Linked DNA regions of Homo sapiens: region 2 is linked to region 1. Evidence: promoter capture Hi-C in 16 types of primary human blood cells and fetal thymus (Javierre and others, 2016). All regions are on one chromosome and are shown on one strand. Each heading gives the region's core, a stretch centred on a gene start or on the middle of the fragment in contact. The rest is flanking DNA. Distances are from core to core; before and after follow the strand shown. Region 1 holds the start of PSMD6 (proteasome 26S subunit, non-ATPase 6). Region 2 overlaps ATXN7 (ataxin 7).

Region 1 (5,475 bases), core at 1,912-4,411:
CTTAAAATAGCTGATGAAAGTACATTGGGAGACAGGTCTGATGGGGTTCAGGACACGCAATCTCAAAATATCACACCTTGTGCTTTGAGGAAGTGGTAGAAGCAGGAAGGTCACTCTCATCTTCTCTGTGCCCTTCTCGCTTGAAGCCAGTTATAAAAGAATTCCCTGAACTTCCTATAAGGTAGGTCATAAGACCCTCATTCCAAACATATTATCCCTATGCTCAAAGAAAAGAAATCCCTTATATATGAAGATACAGGGACACAGAGAAGAATCTGAACACACAGACCTTGGTAAGTCCCCCCAGTTTATTACCATCACATCACACCCCCTTTGACCAATCATACTTCTACATAACTGTCCATTCTTCATCAAATTTACCTTACAAATATACAGATTTCTTCATTTCTTTGGGTCTTCATTTCCAAAGGCTCTCATGTCACCTAAAATTTATATTAAATATATTTGTATGCTTTTCTTCTGTTATTTTATTTATTTTATTTTTTTTGAGACAAAGTGTCACTCTGTCACCCAGGTTGGAGTGCAGTGGCACAATCTCAGCTCACTGCAACCTCCGCCTGCTGGGTTCAAGCAATTCTCCTGCCTCAGCCTCCCGAGTAACTGGGACTACAGGTGTGCGCCACCATGCCCTGCTAATGAGGTTTCACCATGCTGGCCAGGCTGGTCTCAAATTCCTGACCTCGTGATCTGCCTGCCTCAGCCTCTTAAAATGCTGGGATTACAGGTGTGAGCCACCTCTCCTGGCCCTGCTATTCTATCTTTTATTATAGGTGCCTCAGCTATGAACCTCGCAATGGGTGAAGAAAGGATACTACTTTTTCTCCCCTGCAGGTTCTCTGTTCAATATTAGTGGCAATGTAAATTGATATATATATCATTTGTGGAAAATAATTCATAAAATACTTACAGAATACATCAAAATATAAAATATTAATGCCCTCTTATTCAGCAATTGCACGTCTAGAGATTTAGATTGAGAAATAACTATTTAAGTGTGAAAATATATATGTACACGGATAAGTGACACTGTAATATTAATAAGATTGAAAAAAACAAAAATAACCCAAATCAACCAGCACTTAAGGACTGATGAAGAAAAAGTTGGTATAGAAATATAATGGGCCGGGTGTGGTGGCTCACACCTGTAATCCCAGCATTTTGGGAGGCTGAGGTGGGCGGATCTCCTGAGGTCAGGAATTCGAGACCAGCCTGGCCAATATGGTGAAACCCCGTCTCTACTAAAAATACAAAAATTAGCCAGGCTTGGTGGCACGTGCCTGTAATCCTAGCTACTCAGGAGGCCAAGGCAGGAGAATCGCTTGAACCCGGGAGATGGAGGTTGCAGTGAGCCAAGATCACCCCACTGTACTCCAGCCTGAGATCCGTCTCAAACAGAGTGAGATCCGTCTCAAAAATAACAAACAAACAGAAATAAATATAATGGAATCCTATATGGTCAATCCATTGTCATCCAAGATATCCACAATACATGGTAGAATGAATAAAACACAGTTTAAAATGTGCGAGTATAGAATGATCATGTTAATATACCCAGATGAGTTTTAAAGAAGCTATGCTTCTCTGGAATGTAAGTTCCAAAGACAGGGCTTTGTGCTCTTCACTGCTGAGTCCTTGAGGCCTAAGACAGTGCCTGGTACTTTGTAACCATGCAATCATGTTTGTTGAATGACTAAATGAAAGAATTTTAGAAAGTTTTTTACCAAAAGTTTAGCAGTGGTGGAGAGCTATTTAATAGTATTTTTTTTTTACTCTTCATATTTTCTCTATCATTTGAGTTGTCTTCAAAATGCTTGTTTCATTTTTATAGAAACAAATAATAGATTTAAATTATGTGATGATGCCTACTGCCTGTGAGATGTGGCAGTCTCACCTGTTTCAGCAGCTGTGTAAACTGGTTCAGCTCTTTTGGAAAACCATTTAACATTAAATATCCCCAAGTCACAAAATCCTTCTTCCCTTTGTCCGTTATTCCTTCATGGGATTTTATGCTAAGGAAAAAGATGCAAAACATGAAGTGATCTAGACATCCAAAGTCTTCATCCAAGTTTTTATATTAGGTAAGTAAAAACTCTGGTCAACCTAAAGACACCTCTAACAGAGGGAAGAGTGAAAGTAAATTATGGTAAATCCATTAGATGGAATTTAGGCCAGGCATGGTGGCCCACACCTGTAATCCCAGCACTTTGGACGACTGAGGCGGGGGAATCACTTGAGGTCAGAAGGTCAAGACCAGCCTGGCCAACATGGTGAAACCCCGTCTCTACTAAAAATACAAAAATTAGCCCGGCATGGTGGTGCAGGCCTGTAATCCCAGCTACTTGGGAGGCTGAGGCAGGAGAATCGATTGAAGCTGGGAGGCAGAGGTTGCAGTGAGCCAAGATTGTGCCACTGCACTCCAGCCTGGGTGACAGGGCAAGACTCCGTTTCAAAAAAAAAAGGAATTTAATGTAAAGATTACCACCTCTGAAGATCTGTAGCAATGTGAACAAAAGGAAGCTGAAAATGCAGGCATGTAATGATTTAATTTATGTGTAAACAAAACGATGATGCTGTTGTACTATGACGTAGAATCCTGGGTGCAGTTTTTTTTTCTTCTTAAAACCGCAGAAAGAATGTGGATTTTAGAGTTCTAGATAGGGGTTTTCATTTAGGCCTTGCGACATGGCTGTTACATGACCTTGGTTGGTCTGTTTCCCTAACCTCTTTGTGCCTCATTTGTCTTACCTACTAAATAGGCTAATAGTACTACCTCGCAGCATGAAGATGATTTTAATAAGATGAATGAGAGTAACGACTCGACAAACTATGGTGATTGTTTTTATTAATGCTGTTATTACATTTTCAGTTTTCAAAAAATTTTAAGCTCCCATCAGTTACAAACGGAAAGTAAAATAGCTAAAAAGGGAGTGAGAAAGAGATTCAAGAAATTGGGCTTTTGAGTTGGGCTGCACCCACTCTGGGACTCCGCAGGGGGCCTTGAGGGTGGAAAAGCCCCCGTGACCACACAGGGGCGCAGGCGCCCAGGCCGGGTGAGGCGTTCCCGGAGGTGTCCAGCAGAGGACGCTGCCGGCGGAGACGGGACCGGAAGCCGGGCCGCAGGCGGCCGGGCGTATTCGCCGACTCCTCCCGCTTCCGCTGCCGCAGCCGGTCGTAACCAAGTTGTGTCCTGTCAGCCGCTGTCCCCTTCGCCGCGATGCCGCTGGAGAACCTGGAGGAGGAGGGTCTGCCCAAGAACCCCGACTTGCGTATCGCGCAGCTGCGCTTCCTGCTCAGCCTGCCCGAGCACCGCGGAGACGCTGCCGTGCGCGACGAGCTGATGGCGGCCGTCCGCGATAACAGTGAGGCCCGCACGAGCGCCGAGTCAGCGGCCTAGGCCTGGGCCGTCCCCGCGTTCCGGAGCCTGCGGGGACTTTTTTTGATGGAGCTCCAGACCCCTCTGACGGGGTCTCAGAGACCAGGCCTGGCTTCTCCGGCCCTTAGGGTTTTGCTTTGGTTTGGGGATACCCTGGGGGACCTCGACTTGCCTCAGCGGGGTCTGCATCTCTCTGTGCCGCCTTCCCCTGTAAGGGCAGCTTGGGGGAGAATCGTGAGGCATTAATATTTACCCCTGTGCTAGGCACAGAGTAAAGGCCCCGTGACTTTCTGTCAGTGGGGACTGCTCCCGGGCGCGGGGTATTCCTGTGGGAGAGTTCAGCTTGCCTGTGGAAGGGAAATTTGGGTTCGGTTCTTTCTGGCCCTTCTGTAGTGAATGTGTATGTTTGAACATATGTATGTGAGTATGTGTGTATAAAAAGTCTTTCCCTGTTTGAAGACTTTTGGAACAGAATCCGGCAAGAGCAAACCGAGGATTGCCCTCCCTCCAGCCCTAGTAGAGGTTGGCATTGCCAGGATTGGCCGTCACGCAAACCTCCCACCAGCATACGTTTATGTTTTGCCAAGCCGATTATTAAGCGCCATCGCATGCCTTCCTGTTAGTGGGGAAGAGACTGGTGGATGACTTGTGGCGGGGCGGGGGGTGAAATACGTGGGCAGACTTTGACTTGAGGGCACAAGTGTCCCCACTCACACATCCCTCTTTTTGCATGTTAGACATGGCTCCTTACTATGAAGCCTTGTGCAAATCCCTCGACTGGCAGATAGACGTGGACCTACTCAATAAAATGAAGAAGGCAAATGAAGATGAGTTGAAGCGTTTGGATGAGGAGCTGGAAGATGCAGAGAAGAATCTAGGAGAGAGCGAAATTCGCGATGCAATGATGGCAAAGGCCGAGTACCTCTGCCGGATAGGTGACAAAGTGAGTAGAGATGGTTTTCCCTCTCTGTAGTTAGTATAGGCTAAAATTGGAGACTATTCCAGGTAATCGTTTCTCATTAAAAAAATTAACTTCGTTTTAGAAAAAGTATAAAGGTAATCATGCTTGCTTGTACTGGTGAATCAATGTAAAGATGAAAAAGTCGTCTCCATGAAATGCCTTGTCATTTCCCCAAACAGCAGCTAGGGCTGTATTCTTCCCCATTTCACCCCATGCCGATAAAAACGTAAGTGTACATCTAGAGAATTTTATTTACTGCTTTTACAAAATTGGGATCATTTTCAGCAGTTTTCTCACTTGGTTGGGAAGCACTGGTTCTGGTGTCTTTAGTACTTTACACGAGTAATACTTAGCAGAAACTAAGAAACAGTATAGTAAATGCTGAAGTTCTGTTATCTTTCTTTACTCTGTACCTGCCCAGGGATAGGCTTTTCAGTTCTTTTATTGTGCATTTATGCAAACTTTTTGGTAATTTTTTTTTTTTTTTTGAGACGGAGTTTCACTCTTGCCACCCAGGCTGGAGTACAATGGAGTGATCTTGGCTCACTGCAACCTCCACCTGCTGGGTTCAATCGATTCTCCTCCCTCAGCCTCCCGAGTAGTTGAGATTACAGGCGTGCGCCACCACACCCAGCTAATTTTTTTGTATTATTAGTAGAGACTGGATTTCAACATGTTGGCCAGGCTAGTCTCGAACTCCTGACCTCAGGTGATCCACCTGTCTCGGCCTCCGAAAGTGCTGGGATTATAGGCGTGAGCCAGTGCACCCGGTCATAAAATCTTTTTTACGTAAAATTTTATATGTAAAAGAATATAAATGCTCAATGAAAGAACCAATTTTTAAAAAAGTTAATACTTGCAGAAATTTTTAATTCTACAGAATTTTTTTTTTAAGTACATAGGATCATAGTGTATTAGTGTAGTCCTGTTTGCCCTTTTCATTCAGCATTATATTTAAGAGGTCTTTTCCATGCCAACATACATAAATCTGGCTCATCCTGGTTAACTGCTGCCTAATGTTCCACTGTAGAGCTAGCTCTGGCATAGTTTATTTGCCTGTTCAGCTGTTGTTGGACATATGTGTTGTTTTCATCTGTTTTTGCTTTAGCAAACTGCTGCT
Region 2 (5,425 bases), core at 830-3,329, 110 kb after region 1:
CCTCCGCGTTCCGCAACCCAGCAAACGATAGCATCTCTGCCCCTCGAGGGGGCGGGTCACAGGAGGGGGGCAGGGGGGAGGGGAGGAGAGAGGAGGGGGTCGCGAGGGGGTGAAGGGGGGAGGAGGGCGTGGACACTCACCGTCCTTCCCAGGAAGTTTGGAAGCCTCAACCCACAGATTCCACGACTGTCCCAGCATCACTTCAGGACTGGGCAGAGGCCTGCGCTCCCCGACCGTCGCCATTGCGGCGGCCGAGGTGGAGGCGGCGCCGGGCCCGCCGTCCTCCGGCCGTGTGCGCCGTGGCGGCGGTGGCGGGTGCTGCTGCCGCTGGGGCTGCGGAGGCGGCGGCTGCTGCTGCTGCTGCTGCTGCTGCTGCTGCCGGGCGGCCGCGGCCGCTGCTCCGCCCGCCGCCGCCGCCGCGCGGCGCGGCTCCCCCCTGACGTCATCCGCGGCCCGCTCCGACATTCTTTCCGCTCCTACAATGTAACAAAAAAAAGGGGGAAAGAGTCGCGCGGGGGCCGTTTTTTAAGGAGGCGCCAGGGAGTTCCGGCGGCGTGCGCGGCCCGCGGACCGGGTGGGGCACGCTGACAGCGCCCCCATGGCCGCCCAGCCCCCCGAGCCCGCCTCCTCAAGGCCACCCCCCGCCCCGGGCTCAAAGTCCGCGGCGCGGGCTAGCTTTCGCTTTCGACTCCCGCGGCCGCCCGAGGGAGGGGACGGGCAGCAGGCGGCCCGCCACCGCGGCGCTGGGTCCCCTGCCTGCTTCTGCTCAGAGGACCTGGCGCGGAGGCCAGCGCCGGAGCGGCCCGGCTCCAACCCCGCGCCCCACCATGGCAGCCCGCGCGGGGAAGCCCGAGCCGCACCCCAGGACCTCCAGCTGCCCACCCTTCGGCCGCTTGCATCCCCGGGCCCGGCCCGGCTGCCCCGCTCCTTCCTTCCGTCCGCGCGTCCGTCCGAGCGGCGGCACCCGGCCGGCTCCCTTAAGCGGAGACGCCTCCCGCCGCCTCCTCCCACTTGCCGGTCCCTCCCTCTCAGCTCGCTCCGGCGAAGTTTGCACGTCAAGCCCCCGGACTGGAGCCAGGGCGAAGTCGGAAATGCAGCCACCTATGGAGGAGCCGGCCGGCCGGCCCCAGGGCAGCGCGGGAGAGGCTGGTGCAGGGGGCACTTTGCCCTCGGCTTGCGGGCGGCCGCAGAGTTGTCAAAAGCATGAATGGGAAGCCGCCGCAGAGCGGACTCCGGGCGTGCAGGGAACCTTGGGCTAGCGGGGAAGTGCCTCCCAGGTGTCTGCCCAGGTGTCAGGACGAAGTACCGTGTGCACGCCACGCCGCCCACATGTGTGCCCCCGACCCGCAATTGGAAGTCACACTGTGCGCCTGGGGAACTTGAATTCGTCCAGCAAAGAGAGAACATGAGATCAGTGTGCGAGGGAATGGAGGAGAGTGAAACAAACCGAGAGAAGCTTTAACCCGTGTACATATTTTAGAGGCACCACCCCAAGTTTCTGGAAGTGATTCATTCACCCCAAAAGTAAAAATCTGATTCATTTTTAACTTGAGTTGTTAGTCCTTCCCTCTTTATGGTTGTCTTTTCTTGGGCAGGACGAGACCCTAGGGATTAGGAGAATATAAGGAATTCCTACAAAACATGTTTAGAAAATACTGTTTTCGGTCAAATTTTGTTCACTAAATTAAGCATTGGCCCGCAAAACTTAGCACCCCTCCCCAACATACACAACATTTGCTTAGCGATAGGCTACAGATGGCAAAATAAAAGGCTACTTAATGACCTAAAGCATTAAAAATACTTGAAACAGTAGCAGACCACACCACTTTCAATAATTGTTGATATTACTATTTTCTCAAATTGATGTGAAAATTTGAAGCCTGAGACAAAAACAGTGATTCTTATCAGCATGTTTCACGCATGTTTCACACTGCAGTAGTATCAACTCCTGTAATGTGTGTCAGAGATGCTTGCTCACAAGTGCTTTCTCTGACTAGATGGGGAGGAAGTGGAATTCTTTTTTTTTTTGTACCTCAAACATCTGATGTGACAGAGGTAGCCAACTTCTTTGTTGGTCCAACTTGCAGAAACACAGGAAGTTTACATAAGCATAAAAATTAATAAAGAAATGTCACTGCAACCCAAACATAAGGTGGGATTGCTAGAGAGGGTTTGGGGTTCAAAATTTAAAAGCGCACACACACACACATACTTACACATACACACACACACACACATTTTTATTTTAGAAAGATTTAGAAATAAGTCTGTAAAATTTTTTCCTGGATTGCGTGCAAACAAGTCCAAAAAGTGAAACCATGGTTACTTCCTGTCCTTATCAAAATAACCAAAATAGTAGAAATGATTGGAAAGATTTAATTTTAAAAATCATTTCTACAGCTTTAACTTCCTCCATAAGACTATCAATGAGAAAAATGCACAGGAGTAAAACATATAATTCCCTTGACAGGAATAGAGTTCCCTTCTAACTTTTAACATAGCTTAGATGACCCCTATGCAGATTTTCAATTTTTCATTCATTCCAAATCACTGCAAAATCTGAATAATTACATGAAAACACCCAACCTCTGTTTTCCTAAAGTACACAATTTATTACTTGGAATTGTGAAATTCTACACTTAAGAAAAACGAAAATTTGGATTTTAACGGCATTTGAAGCTACCATTGAAAAGAAAAGCTTGCGGCCACCAAGCCATATAGATAACAAAGGGAGCTTGCTTGTTGAGTACAGCTCTTCAGATCCCTGAAACTACAGAGTGAGAACAAAAATAAGGAGAATGGCAAACATGAAGTATGGTCCTACTTCCTCAAGACATTGCTTGACTTTCCTCTTTTGGATGTGAAACTACTTCAAGATTCACTAATATGACTTCTAGCCAATGGGGATCAATGCAGCAATTTAGAGTACTTCAACTTCTTTCCCAATTCCTGCTTGATACCTCTTTTTTTCTTCAAAGTTTTTGATTGGTTTAATAAAACACAAGCGGGCTTAAAATGAAAAATATTAAGTATCCTCTTGGCATTATGATCGTTATTAAGGGAAATTATTACAAATAGCAGTTACCAATTATTGAGTACCTCAATACTCAAAACTAATAGCAAGCTATCAATTATTGAGGAATCTCATAAATAAGCACTATAAATAAGTGTCTTATATTAAACTGAGCAATTCAGCTCAATCCCTTAGGAAACTTACTATCAAACTGAAGAGGATGTGCAGACAAGAGATTGACGGGCATTTCCTGGTATTTCTTCAACCAGTTCTCTTTTGCTGCAGCCAATGCATTTTACCCACTCTTTCTTCACCCATAAAAAAGTCCTAACTCCTAGAAATGTTCTGATATCCATAGTCGTTAGAAGTTTCCTTAAAGTTGGAATGAGTCACCAAAAAAAGTCAAAACAGCAAGCTGACACACTGCATCTGATATCTGAATTTTGGCAACTTTTAAAAGCATTCCTTATGCAAAGCATACTGTTTATAAACAAGAGTACAACAGAAACCCAATACTTAGCTGTATTACCTACAGTCCCACAGTAAAGAACTTGATGACCTCTTACCTAGATAATCCCCTTTCCATACCACCAAATTATAAAAAGAATATAACTGTGTATAAATTTTTTTTGTGTGTATGTGTGTGTGGAGATGACAAGGTCTCACTATGTTGCCCAGGCTGGTCTCAAACTCCTGAGCCCAAGCAGTCCTCCTGCCTTGGCCTCCAAAAGTGTTGGGATTATAGGCATGAGCCACCACACCAGGCCAATACAATTTACATTCACTTAATATGTTATTTTAATATAGTATTATGCCTGTATAATATCAATCAGTGCTTCTGCCAGTGCATTTCTGATGATGCCTTGTAACTCTGAGGAACTTCACTGTCTGAAAACTTAAGTAATAATTCATTTTATATGGCTTGAATAATGAGTATTCAATTTATCCAACAATTCCTGATTGCCTGCTACAGACTAGGCACTCTACTAGGCACCAGGGTGAACACAAGATAGTAATTTCACTGAGTATGTGAGAAAAGTAGTAAGTAGGGGAAACAATTCATCAAAACTGTCACCACCAACTAGATTGTCTATGGCTTAAGAACTGGGCTGTCAGAGGTGAAGTACTGCTAATTCTGTGCATTTCATCCCTTCCAAGGACATATTTAAAATGTGGTCTTATCTCGTCACCCAAATTTAGGGATGTTCTCAGTAGATGCCAAGGCTAACAAGTCTCTCTTTACAAAAAGGATTCTTTGCACTCATAAAATGTTTTGTTCCAAGGCCAAAGGTATCACAATGTACAAAAACAAAACAAAACAAAAAGTTGACCTTTCCTACATTAAATCCAGTTTAATGTAAAAAGGCTAAAACTACCCAAAACATTTCTAAGATACAAGATCCCACACAACCGTCTTCAATTGGAAAAAACCACCAGTCCCAGTACAACATTTTAATAAACTTGAAAAGCAGTTAACTACAGTATACTTATCTGTGTAAATTACAGGGTTGGTAACAGAGATTCTCCATTATCAACCCCAAAGGACTGAAGTCATTTGAGTAACAAGAAACTCAGATCCACTAAATTAGGAATGTGTTGGCTTTGGTTTCTTTTTATCTTCCTAAAATTGGCTGAGCCTTTGTTCAAATCCTCTCTCACTCCTCTGACTACATCTTTCCCCTTTCCTCGTTCTTCTCCAGAGAGAGCCAGGGCTGTATTCTGCACAAGGGGCATGCCTTTCCTTAACTATGCTCCCTCTAGTGAAGTACCTTACAGCTTGTCATGAATATCAGTATTCCAGTAGAGGGAGAACAGTGGAAAGAGTAAATTGAATTCATCAGCTTAGTGGCTGGAATTCATAGCAATCAAGTGCAAAATTAGGAATAATAAGGAAAGTTGCAAGAGTGAGGACTTAAAAGATAAGACATAAATAGCTTTTTGAAAACTCAACCTGTACACATACTCATTCTATAGTAAAATGCATCATTTGCTAAACATCTCAAACCCTTAAATTTTTGGATTGTTTTCTTAATCATATGTTTGCATGTACATATGAACTCTCCCAAAGAAACATTCACCAGTAATAGCAAATTGCTTGAAAAGAGAAGAAAATTTGAAAATACACATATAAAAGGTAATAATAAATTATAATATAAAAGGTAATTAGTAATGCCCAGTGTTTCTAGGGATTTAAAACTGGCTTGTAATTTTATGACGAACTTGATTTGAAATGTTGATTTAAAGTCTTTCGGCTGAGGAATTTTTTACAAATAGAAAGTTTCAAGTTATAGAAAAGGAATGGAGGCCAGGCGTGATGGTCTGATGCCTGTAATCCCAGCACTTTGGGGGACCAAGGCTCAGGTGTTGGAGACCAGTCTGGGCAACACAGTGAGGCATAGTCTCTACTGAAAA

The links. The method cuts DNA at HindIII sites, captures the fragments that hold promoters and counts their contacts. A CHiCAGO score of 5 or more calls a contact.
Region 2: a fragment that was not itself captured here is called in contact with the fragment with the promoter of PSMD6 in region 1 in 3 of 17 cell types (total CD8 T cells, total CD4 T cells and naive CD8 T cells); the score reaches 7.7 in total CD8 T cells.

What each region holds. Positions count from the first base shown.
Region 1 is chr3:64,021,180-64,026,654 of GRCh38, reverse strand. It overlaps PSMD6 (proteasome 26S subunit, non-ATPase 6), which reads left to right and starts at 3,161. Exons shown (of 8, transcript NM_014814.3): 1 at 3,161-3,380; 2 at 4,132-4,337. The coding sequence starts at 3,236. LOC105377121 (a long non-coding RNA gene) reads right to left here and starts at 2,580. Exons shown (of 3, transcript XR_940906.3): 1 at 2,504-2,580; 2 at 1,913-2,030; 3 at 295-443. RefSeq lists a silencer at 2,953-3,052 and enhancers at 2,615-3,236, 3,203-3,552, 3,237-3,859. The HindIII fragment of the contact is 6,204 bases long and covers 1-5,475 here.
Region 2 is chr3:63,907,639-63,913,063 of GRCh38, reverse strand. ATXN7 (ataxin 7) reads right to left here. Exons shown (of 13, transcript NM_001377405.1): 3 at 141-476. The coding sequence starts at 465. It also overlaps SCAANT1. Among named protein-coding and RNA genes, the nearest start is that of ATXN7, 46 kb to the right of the region's middle. RefSeq lists a silencer at 163-1,002 and an enhancer at 1,333-1,412. The HindIII fragment of the contact is 1,242 bases long and covers 1,459-2,700 here.